Regions from separate parts of the Homo sapiens genome. Here region 1 is linked to region 2. The links are contacts of gene promoters, found by promoter capture Hi-C in human tissues and cell types (Jung and others, 2019). All regions are on one chromosome and are shown on one strand. Each heading gives the region's core, a stretch centred on a gene start or on the middle of the fragment in contact. The rest is flanking DNA. Distances are from core to core; before and after follow the strand shown. Region 1 has its middle 12 kb from the start of NR4A2. Region 2 holds the start of GALNT5 (polypeptide N-acetylgalactosaminyltransferase 5).

Evidence for each region. The method cuts DNA at HindIII sites, captures the fragments that hold promoters and counts their contacts. A contact is called where the count stands out against the background at its distance.
Region 1: a fragment that was not itself captured here is called in contact with the fragment with the promoter of GALNT5 in region 2 in 1 of the 25 tissues and cell types used here (dorsolateral prefrontal cortex).

What each region holds. Positions count from the first base shown.
Region 1 is chr2:156,317,420-156,323,338 of GRCh38, forward strand. No RefSeq gene overlaps it. Among named protein-coding and RNA genes, the nearest start is that of NR4A2, 12 kb to the right of the region's middle. The HindIII fragment of the contact is 3,436 bases long and covers 1-2,986 here.
Region 2 is chr2:157,253,165-157,259,397 of GRCh38, forward strand. GALNT5 (polypeptide N-acetylgalactosaminyltransferase 5) reads left to right here and starts at 4,541. Exons shown (of 10, transcript NM_014568.3): 1 at 4,541-6,233. The coding sequence starts at 4,919. The HindIII fragment of the contact is 4,009 bases long and covers 2,232-6,233 here.

The DNA of each region.
Region 1 (5,919 bases), core at 19-2,518, 940 kb before region 2:
CACTTACCCCACTGTGGTTTCAGGTCAATGCTCCCCTCCAGAAGTCTGAACATGCCTGAAGCAACATCCTCAACTCTCAGCAGGTGAGAAAATCTTTAGTTAGTTTCTGGAGAAGCAGAAAGGTACAATCCTTCTGGGACAGGCAGTGCTAAAGCAAGGCACTTGTAAGTTCATATCCTGGCTCTCAGTTCGAATTCCAACTCTTCCATGTACTTATAGGCCAAGATAATAAACGATACCTCTCAACCTCATCTCTTCATTTGTAAAATGGAAATAACAGTGCCAACGTCATATTTGGAGTTGAGATGATTATATGATATGATATCTGGAATTGCAACATGTAGTAGACAGAGTTATTGTAATGGAGGAATGTCAGAAACCATGGAATGTGTCCTCCGTCTGCCACCTGCTTCTGCCCTTCACAATGACCCAAATCTTTGAAGGAGTCCACATCACCCCTGCCTAAAGATTGCAGCACCTCTTAGGAAACAAGCTCTCTGACTAGAATGGAATTATAGGAAATGCAAGTTTCCATGCCAATGATTTTGTTCCTTTTGACTCCTTTATGACACCTTGAAACATCTGTGTGGTCCTCATTAGCCCAGAGCTTCCCATACTTAGAGCCACACTCTCCTAACATAGTCTTGCTATGGCCTCTATATCCAACTTTCACCTTATACCTACCTGCCTGCCCAGCACCCAGCATCCTCCATGTGCCCTTTTTATTCACTTCCATAGATCTCTTCTTACTTTAAACTCATTCACATTATTGTTGGCACCCTGGCCATTTTAGTCCTCTCCTTCTCATCTCTGCCTTCAACTCTAGGACTCTGATTAAATAAATCCTCTAAATTGCCTCCTCCTCTTCCAACTTATCAGTCCCTGCTCACCTGATCATTCACAGTATGGTTCATTATCTTTATCCATCCCTATCTCTACCCATTTCCCCCAAAAGCTTTTGCTTCCTCCTTCTTGTTTGGCAATAGCATATAAATGAGAAGGCCTGTGACATGGACAATGGGACATTCACTACCATCCCTTTTCTCTAGCTTTCCTCTATGCCTTTTTTGCTGTTCACTCTCTTCCCAGGTACCAGGTTGCTGAGGAAGATGAAAAGGGGGTGGCTACATGTGCTTATGTGCTTGTCCCCCTGGCCCTTCCTTATGACACCCACCTGGCTTCAAGCAGATAACAGGCCAGAGGATAAAGAGATACAGAAGTCCATTGGAGTGGTGACCAAAAACGAACAAACCAGAGTGAAGAAAGAGGACTGGCCAGAAAACCACAGTAGTAGGCCAGGCATGGTGGCTCACACCTGTAATCCCAGCACTTTGGGAGGCCAAGGCAGGTGGATCACCTGAGGTCAGGGGTTTGAGACCAGCCTGGCCAACACTGTGAAACCCCATCTCTACTAGAAACACACAAAAAAGAAAAAAAAAAAAGCTGGGTGGGGTGCCCGCACCTGTCAGGGAGACAGAGGCTGCAGTGAGCTGAGAACACACCACTGCACTCCAGCCTGGGCGACAGAGCGAGGACTCCATCTCAATCTCAAAAAAAAAAAAAAAAGAAAAGAAAAGAAAAGAAAGAAAGAAAAAGAAAAGAAAAGAAAACCACAGTGCTGAGATTCCCTTATCAGTATCTCTCAATAAAGGCAGCCCTTTCTCTCACTTCATGTACAATTGGTCCTCAGTAGTGACACTATCAACCTTTTTAACTGAGACCCCCCCATAAATATATTTCATAGTGTCACCCAAGAAAAATTGCAGCAAACAATGCTTAGACGTCTTATATTTTTGCTATCCTGCAAAGCCCTCATAATTTCTATTCTATTATTCTTTCATTTCTTTAGAAGAAAATTCTGATGGCAACCCAATATAATATCTTTGAAAACCACTAATGGGTCAGGACCCTCAGTTTGAAAAACACTGGCCTATTTGCAGCTTATTGATGAGGAGTCCTCTCTCTGTCCTTACCCTTCTCGAAATCCCAATTTAATTTGAGTCTGTCAAAACAATCCTCTTGTCCAAGCTTCCAGAGCCAAGAAATTGTGGTAGACTCAATCCCTCTGGAAGTCCCTCTAGTACCCGATGAAAGACTTCTCACACTCGCAGCAGCCGCCCTCTACTGTACCAGGGACGTCTCTAGCAGAAACTTGGGCATTGTATCTGCTAGAACGGGTGACACATGTCCTGGAAATCCTAGTTTATCTAAACACAGGTTGAGATAGAAATAAGAAAAAATGGGAGTGAGAAAGATTAAGTGTGGGAAGAAGAAATGAGGAGAAAAGCGTTGAAGTTGAGCTCTGCTAGGATCCAGGTGCCGGCTCGGCGCTGTGTCTAGTTAAACTCGGCGCGACAGGGTTCAGCTAAGCCGAGAAGAGGGCAGCGAGCGGCCCGCAGTCAGCATCTTGTAGAGAAGAAGGAGCGCTCCCAGCCGCGGGAAGATAAGCGTACAGGCGGCCCCAAGGCCCCTACAGGCGCAGCCCTGATCTGGCCACTTGACTAGACGCTCGCTCCAGCGCTCGCAGGCCTAGGGCTCATTACATGCGTTGCGAGGAGACCTGAAAGCAGGGCGGGAACGCACAATCTATCTTCAGAGCTTTGGGTCGTGAGCACACGTGTGGAGCATGGTTGTGGCATGGGCGTCTGGGCCCCTCTCCTAGACCTCCACGAGGTGCGGACGCGCCTCTGCCCCGCCCTTTTGTGCGCCCTCACCACTAGAAAAAGAGTTTTCCCCAGTGTCGCGTGGGAGGTCGCCCCAGTCCAGCTCAGCGTTCCAAGAGACCAGAGACTGACCGGAAATCGTTGGGTGCAGGGAGAAGCAGGAGACGCGCTCCGCCTCCTGTGCTCGTGCCCTAGCGCAACAGACGCGACCTAGAGGCGACGGCAGCCTGTTGCAGCCTTCGCCCTGAGGGTGGGGGGCGGGGGGGTGTAGAACAGCTGAGGAAGACGCAGGGAGCAGCTGGGGAGGAAAGGGAGGGACACCGAGGAAACAAAGTTCACCCAAGTGAATGCGTCCTAATTGCTCCAAGGCTCTCTCCGCAAAGTCTACGACTGCAAGCCGCAAAGTCAAACTACGTCTCCAAAACGCAGTGGGCAGAGCAGGAGGGCTTGTGTCTCCATTTTCGCCGCAGGGCGGATCGCGGACACAAGTCCTCTCCAGTAATTCCGAAGCCTCGAAATAAGACTATGCTGGGAGGAGGGGTTGGGGGGTGACTAATAAGAAGGCGTGGGGGTGGGGGTGGGGAGTACGCGGCAAGAACCCTGCTTTCTGGAATTCTCCCGCCACTGTCTGCAGGGCCCAGAGCGCACTTCGCGGCTAGGGAACAAAATTGCCGCTCTCTTCGAGCGCCCCCAGCGTGGGGTGGGGCCCTGCTTTCCCGCGTCAGGACCGCCCCACCAGGCGCCCTCCGACGGAAGCTGGACTTTTCCTAAGGAAAGGCAAAGTCAAAGTCGGAGGAAAGATCTTTCTTGCGGCCCCAGCTGTCGCTCCTAATGGTCTCGGGGAACATACTAAAGGAAAATGACTTTAAATCACAGTCTTGCCATCCTAAATAGTTATGTGCAATATTTTGGTTTCTAGCAAAATTTAAAAGTAAAATGGGGATTTCCATATGTTCATTTTATTATTAAAAACGAATTACTAAAAAGTGATGACCTGTTTGGAATTCATATCTTGCTTTACGAGCAGTCAGCCAGTATCGACTGAACACAATAAATGCAGGGGTGCGAAACGTGATTGCTCGGGTTCGAGTTCTGTCGGATGCACCGATCTAAGCAGAACCTTTCCCGAAGACTTGGAATTGGGTGCGCTTTTTTTTTTAAGTTGTGGCTGAGCCCTATGGGGAAGAAGGGTTAACTGGGCGTCGGCTGAGACCCCAAACCCTCTTCCTCCTCCATGAGACTCCAAAATTGAGTCAGTCCCAGCCCATAGTTGCCTGGGAAGCTTGGAATCCTGAGAAATTCCGGGGTGCGGCCACTATGCAAGCATTCCTATTCTGACAGCGGGGACAAATGGAGAGGGGACCTTACAACCTCCTTTGGAGAAGAATATATGAGAAACTCACTTCCAGACCTCTATTCAATAGTGAAAATAATACTGAGAAAAAGTTTTAAAATCTCCAAGAATAGATACTCTCCTTTCCCCTTCCACCTTGAGGGAAACGGTCTCCATTTTTGACCTGGATTTGAGAGCATCGGGGCTTGAGACAAGCGCGTCTTCCACAGAGAGAGGCGAGGCCCAGGCAGGGAGCCCCCCAGCCTTTACTCTCGGCACCTCGGCGCTGCCGCGCGGCGGATACAAAAGGAAACGGACGAGCGTGCGACGCGAGGCGGGGAACTGGTGGCTCGAAGACGCGCAACACGCGCGATGCCTAGAAGTGCTCTGGTGTCACTCCCCTGTATAGGACCTGGCGAGATGGAATTGTATCCTGTACTGGAAAACTCTGTGATCAAAATATTGCAATGAAATTAAACTTTTCCCTCACAGATCTGTTTGTATCTTGGAAACATTTCTGCAATGCCGACGCCTAGGTTTAAAATACAATTAGATAATTTGATATTCTCGGTGACGCACTGACACCGAGAAAGCCAAGAGATTCTCCAAACAAAGTGAAATTGAACCTTCAAATGACATTCTTAAGTTTGCAAGAATATCTATATCTCCTTGTTGTGCTCCTTGCATGCGGAGAACCAGTGGCCCGTAAGACTTATGACCGGTGTTTTTTAGGGGAGGAGCCACCTAAACTATCTAGGAATGGAGTCCAGTGCCAGAAAGAAATACACAAGGTCGTTGGGTGCCGCTGTCACTGCAGGGCGCCATCGGCTCCCTGGGCCTTACATATCTCTCTTGTGAGAATCAGTACCCCAAATACTCTCTCTCTCTCTCACACACACACACACACACACATCCACCCATCCACAGCGGAAGGCCAGCAGGGCACCGAAAGAAATTGTGGCGGTCGCCTGGACCGCAGAAGGCAGACCTCAGGAAGGAGCAGGCGACAGCGCTGCTCACTGCTCACTCGAGCTTTGAATTAAGGCCATCTTTCCATAAACTCAAAATGGGGCTAGATAGCAAAGACTTAAAATTAGACCTTCCCTCAGAGCTGAGAACTGTATGGTCATGTCTTCGGAACAATGATCATATATTTTCCATTGCTGGAACGATACACAATAACTGAAATGCTTAAGAGGACGCGGGAATACGAGGGCGGTATGAAGCCCTCATTACAAAGTTTAATCTCTTTCTGAAGAAGGTAATGCAACGTCTGGCTTTTGGCAATGCAGCGTGTCTGCTGTTTTTCCTCACTTTACTCCTAGAAACATTAGGACAAGAAAAGTCCTCAGCTGCATCTGGAAAGATGCAGGGGCAATGCATGCGACGCTCTTCACCCGAGCAACTCGGTGCGCGGCCGGCCGGGAGTTTGACAGCGACTCTGTGAAACAGAAAAGGCACTAGCCAATTTGCAACTTAGGAATCACAACTGAATGTTCCGCGAGCCGGTGCAGTCGGCACGCGGACATGGTGGAGGGTCATCTCTGCCTCCTTTGACCCCAAATTCCCGGGAGGCGAACTACCCGACACCCCCTTGGCCTTGGGTGTTGCGCAGCCGCTTCCTTAAGGGAGAACCAGTCACAGAGTTCGTTTCTGGGTTCAACTCTCGGGGATTGTGTGACGGAATGTCATTGTCTCAGGGCTGCAGACACCTGGGAGGGAGATGAGTGCTGAAGGCTCTGCAGATTCCCAGCATTTCTAAAGAGCTTTTCTCTTTCGCTTTACTTACTGCTTTGTGGCTTTACTTGGGCATAAGATGTGAAAACAAAATGATATGGCTAGTCTCATCCTTTCAAGAAAGTCAAGAAATTGAACATTTCGTTATTATTTAATCTCTTATGTGGCCACCCTATTTGTCCCTCA
Region 2 (6,233 bases), core at 3,291-5,790:
AAATAAAACAGATATTAGTTACTTAGGATATACTCACATAGTCAAGAAATCTTCAAATACCCAGATAAAGTAACTGTAGATGCAAAGCCAGAGAGCTGGAACCGGTGTTTCTAAGATTCTGTACTTCCATCAGGGAGATTTAAGGCTAGATATAAAACAGTGTTTACTGAGCTCCTACTTGATTAACAATGAGGATGATTCAAAGACATTTGCCATGAGAATATAACACAAATATACTTTTCACTCTAACTTTATGCAGATCTGTTTTGCTGAACAGTTTTTGATCTAGTCTGAGAAAATTAAATGTTGAGGATTAAATGAGATACCGTGAAGTGACTAGTGGTAGGCCCTCAGTAAATTCCCAATGAAAGGTTGCTATTAATATGATTATCCTGACAACAACCAAATAGAGTAGAGGGCAAGTCCTCCTACTATTATGCTCGTTTTACAGAAGAAGAAACTAAAATCTGTTTTTAAATGTTTAGTACAAGCTGGAGTCAGACTGATAATTGGAATAACCCCTCCAAATGTCTCCCAAGGATAATTCGTAACTCCAGATTTTCAGATGGATATCATCTCCAACTAAGTATGTACAGATTCTTGAGAAATTTGACCAGCCAAAGGTACCTGCATTCTACGACTTGGGATGACAAGCCAGGCTCCCTAACTGTGGGGTACCTCAAATAACCAACCCACTTACGTATTTAGTTTCCTGCTGGTAACATGGAAATTAATACAACTAAAATTTTAGAAGCACCGTCATTTACCAATATACAAATGTCATGTGTTGGGCAATATGTGTGTTGATGAAAAGGTAGAATTTCCTAATATCCTTTTTTTTCTATTCCTTTTACCTATGCAATTCATTGATCTGAGATGTGAAACAGCATGTGTGTCGGAAAAGAGAAAAAAAAGGAGAAAGATGTACAGCTATGAGGGCCACAGAAATTATTACTGAGTGCCTGAAGACACATAGTGTTGAATTAGTGGTATGGCTTATAACCAACTTCTACCATCATCACAGATTATCATAAACTCACAAGGGAAAAGACCAAGAAGAGGCTGGGAAGAGAACCTTACACAAGCTTTTCCATGTGTGACACATCCATAGTCATATGGCTATTAGTGGCCAAGTCAGTACTTTAGACCAGGTCTGACAACAAATCTACTCCTCCATTTCTAGGATATTTAATCAATGTTTCCTTACTCTCCTACCCACTCTTCACATTTCATTCTGAATTGTATGTCAAATAGACCGAAGACTAAGCCAGAGTTAATGTGTTGCTTTACCCATGATAGATAAGCCAAGATTCCCTTTTAATTTTCTTAACATGTTGCTCTCCTGTTGCAAGTAATTTGTGTTTTGATTCGCAAGGACAAACCAGAGAGGGATAAAAAGAAATCAGTACTCTTTGATAAAATTTATATGGAAACAAGAATATATTTCAAGCAGTGTTTTAAACTGCCAAGCATAGAATATAACAAGTGTTGACTTTCCTAAAAGACATTTGAGTAATTCCAACTGCCATTTGGGGTGGGATGGTGGCTGGACAAGATTGAATCATGCAGAGTAAAATAATTTTAAAGTATTCTATTTTCATGTTTAAAACAATATTGTAATGCAAACCATTTATCCATGATGCTAAAAAAAATTCTCACTTTATTTTCGAATGTGGATGCTAAAGATGTGTGCTATGTTTTTTGCTGGTGGCGTTCTTTTTTTATTATTATTATTATTATACTGGTGGCGTTCTACTGAGGGGAGTTTTAAGGTTGTTAGGGGCAGAGACAATGTCACCTACTTCATGTTTTGGGCATGTAGGGAGTTCTCAGTGAACAATGGTCTTGTTAAATCTATAATTAGAGGAAATAAGAATGGCAAGAATAAAATAAAATACTCAGATTTGTTTCTTCCCCATTGCCAGAATCATGTTAGTCACTAGTTTTCTACTTGTTTTTTTGGGAAGAGCTGGTACATTGCCTCCCACATGCATCCGACACTCCTATTACAGCAAAGTATTAGCAACAATATGAATGGCTAACATTTAAAGAGTACCTTCAATATAACAATAACTTTAACCATTTTTAAATATTCTCACATTAATCTGCAAAGCAGAATTTTTTTTTATTGCTCAGTAACCACATAAAATTAACTAGCCTGCAAGATCATACAGCTAGAGAGCAGTATTGTGTGATATTGAAGCACACGGACTACAGTCGTGTATTCAAGACCCAACCCCTCCAATCTCTACCAGAAGTTGCTTTACCTCTCTAAGGTTTCATTTGCTGACTACAAAATACATATTGTAATTTACTCCTTCACATTAGATTCTTGTGAGGATTGAGTGAGATAGTCAATGGAAAGAACTTAGCAAAGTGCTTGAGATATATATATGAATTTGGAATCTCTCCTTCCCCTCCCAAGTCATTGGGAACATAAGTTTACCTCAAAGCATGGAAGCTAGACCCTCCCCACACTAGAGTAATGAACAGCAGTGTTGTCCACAAATCACTCAGAGTTCCTCAGAGAGAAGGACAGTGGTCCCGAGAAGTGCTTCTCAAACTCTATGGACAATCTTTACAACTGGCAATGTCAAAATGTGTATTCTGATTTAGTTGTTATGGGAATGCATAGATTTTATTAGACTGTACTTTAGACAGGGAAGGAATGTCACACAAGTTGTAGACTGTATTGGCCAGGATTTTTCAGAGAAACAGAACCAATAGGATTCATAGAGGTAGATAAGTGAGTTGCAGTTTATTACAGGAATTGGCTCATGTGGTTATGGAGACTGAGAAACCTCAGTCCAGGCCACCTGCAAGCTGGAGAACCAGGAAAGCCAGTAACATGGCACATTCTGAGTCCAAAGGCCTGAGAACCAGGGAAGCCAATAACATCACTCTCAGTCTGAGGTCAAAAGCCTGAGAACCTAGTGAGGGATGTGGAGGTTGTGGGGGCAGACTGGTACAAGCCCCAGAGGCCAAAGCCAGAGAATCTAAAGTTCTAGTCCAAAGGCAGAAGAAGAAAGATGTCCCAGCTCACTAACAGAGACAGAATCCACCTTTCCTCTGCCTTTTTTTCTATCTGGGCCCTCAACCAATTAGTGGTGCCTGCCCACATTGGGTGAGGGCATCTCCTCCCCACTCAGTGCACTGAGTCAAATGCCAATCTCTTCTGGAAACACCCTCACAGATATACCTAAAAATAATGCTTTACTGGTTCTCTGGGTGTTCCTTAGCCCAGTCAAGTAGACACCTAAAATTAAATGTCTCATAGGCAATGTTCAAAAACCAAAAACAAACAAACAAAAAATTGAGACTTTTTTTCTAGACCAGTGTTTCTCAACTTTAGCTGCACATTTGAAAGACCTGGGAAGCTTTGTAAAAAAAAAAAAAAAAAAAAAAATATATATATATATATATATATATATATATATATATATATATATTTAATACAATATCAGCCCAAATGTCATCTCCACCTCCTCTCTCATCAATTGACCAGAGTTTTGGGGATCTTGTTTCAAGTGGTTCTAATGAAAAGCCTGTGGCGGAACTGCTACCCTACCAGTCAACCAGCATCACTCAAAATCTGGTCCAAGTCCTGGTGTGGTCCTGAAACTGTTGCTTGCTGGTTTAAGACGAGATAAGTACTGAAACTGAGAGTAAGTGTATCTTAATCTGTTCAGGCTACTATAGAAGAATAACATAGACTAAGTGACTCATAAACAACAGAAACTTATTTCTCACAGTTCTAGAGACTGAGAAGTCAGAAATCAAGGCACCAGCAGATTCGTTGACTGGTGAAGGCCCATTTCCTGGTTCATAGATGGCACCTTCTCATTATGTCTTCACTTTGTGGAATGGCAAGGCAATAGGGCCTCTTTTTTAAGGGTGCTGATCCCATTCATGAGGGCTCTATCCTTATAATGAAATCACCTTCAAAAGCCCTACCTCCTAATACTATCACATTTATGATTAGGTTTCAACATATGAATTTTGGGTGGACATAAACATTCAGACCATAACAAAGTGTTTAGAAACTTTTATAGCAGTATGACAAATTAAGTTTATTTGTAATCAAATGTAATAATAAAAACAGATGGATTAGTGAAAAAAAAATAGTTGGCTTACAAAGAAATACATTGAAACCCCTTGAATGAATGATCTAAATAATTAAACATATACATCTCTGGAAGTGAGGATATACCAGGCCCCTTCTTTAAGCTGTTATGTCTTAAAGCTGAAATGTTAACTTCAGTGATAAATTCCTCAGGCAGAGCATTGGCACCTGGCTACAACAGGGTTAATGAGCAGGAGTAGGGTAGGTGGGGTCACAAACCAGGAACACATGCCCTCCAAGTTAGATAGCTTTTTTTCCTCTTTAATTGCCGTTTAAACACACATGCTCTCACATAACACAGAAGGTGAGAGCTGAATGAAGTTTTCTGGGTAATGGCATGAAATGTTTTCCTTATGAGAAGTGGTGTTGAGTTACAGCGTGCAGACGGAGAACGGGGAGGAGAGAAACGGCAGTCTCAATCTGGCCCCCACCTTTTCTTGGGCTTGTAGGAAGGTGGACATGGGCTCCCGGAGACAAGACAAGTGATATGTTGAACTGTTCGGTGGCTGGAATCAACTGCTCCTGGAGTGACCTAAGGCCAGTGTTTATCAGAACTTAGCCAGGGCCAGCCAAGCAGGCACAGATGCTCTGCTATGAAATGCCACGCAGGCAGAGACTGACAAGCGGTAGGAACTGAGCTTTCCCCTTGGACTGCTGCTTCCTGCTGTGTTCAGGGGAGGGGGTCACTTTCTGGCAACTCTGCTGCTGCTGCTGCTGCTGCTGCTACTTCAGCTTCCTCTCCACTCAAGGTAAGCAGGCTAAGGGAGGGCAGGCTGCTAGGGAAAGCTTTGTACCATGAACAGGATCCGAAAGTTTTTCCGAGGAAGTGGGCGAGTCTTGGCATTTATCTTTGTAGCTTCTGTCATCTGGCTCCTCTTTGACATGGCAGCTCTCCGCCTCTCATTCAGTGAGATCAACACTCGGGTCATCAAGGAAGACATTGTGAGGAGGGAGCGGATAGGATTCAGAGTTCAGCCAGACCAAGGAAAAATTTTTTACAGCAGCATAAAAGAGATGAAACCTCCCCTAAGGGGACATGGGAAAGGGGCATGGGGCAAAGAGAATGTTAGAAAAACTGAGGAGAGTGTGCTCAAGGTTGAGGTGGACTTGGACCAAACCCAGAGGGAAAGAAAAATGCAGAATGCCCTGGGAAGGGGCAAGGTTGTGCCGTTGTGGCATCCTGCACATCTGCAGACCCTCCCTGTGACTCCTAACAAGCAGAAGACAGACGGGAGAGGCACCAAACCTGAAGCCTCCTCTCACCAGGGGACACCAAAGCAAACGACAGCTCAGGGGGCTCCAAAGACCTCATTCATAGCAGCAAAAGGAACTCAGGTAGTCAAAATATCAGTACACATGGGACGTGTCAGTTTAAAACAGGAGCCCCGGAAGAGTCATAGTCCCAGCAGTGACACATCAAAACTAGCAGCTGAAAGGGACTTGAATGTGACCATCAGTCTTAGTACTGATAGACCAAAGCAGCGATCACAGGCAGTAGCAAACGAGAGGGCACACCCTGCCAGCACAGCAGTGCCGAAGTCTGGGGAAGCCATGGCCTTAAACAAAACTAAGACTCAGAGCAAAGAAGTCAATGCAAATAAACACAAAGCCAATACGAGTCTTCCTTTTCCTAAGTTCACTGTCAATTCAAATCGCTTAAGGAAGCAATCTATTAATGAGACACCTTTGGGAAGTTTGTCAAAGGATGATGGAGCTAGAGGGGCTCATGGGAAGAAACTCAATTTCTCTGAAAGCCATCTTGTGATTATAACCAAAGAGGAAGAGCAAAAGGCAGACCCCAAAGAGGTCTCTAATTCTAAAACCAAAACAATATTTCCTAAAGTATTGGGTAAAAGCCAAAGTAAACACATTTCCAGGAATAGAAGTGAGATGTCTTCCTCTTCACTTGCTCCACATAGAGTGCCACTGTCCCAAACTAACCATGCTTTAACTGGAGGGCTAGAGCCAGCAAAAATCAACATAACTGCCAAAGCCCCCTCTACAGAATACAACCAGAGTCATATAAAAGCCCTTTTACCTGAAGACAGTGGAACGCACCAGGTGTTAAGAATTGATGTGACACTTTCTCCAAGGGACCCCAAAGCTCCAG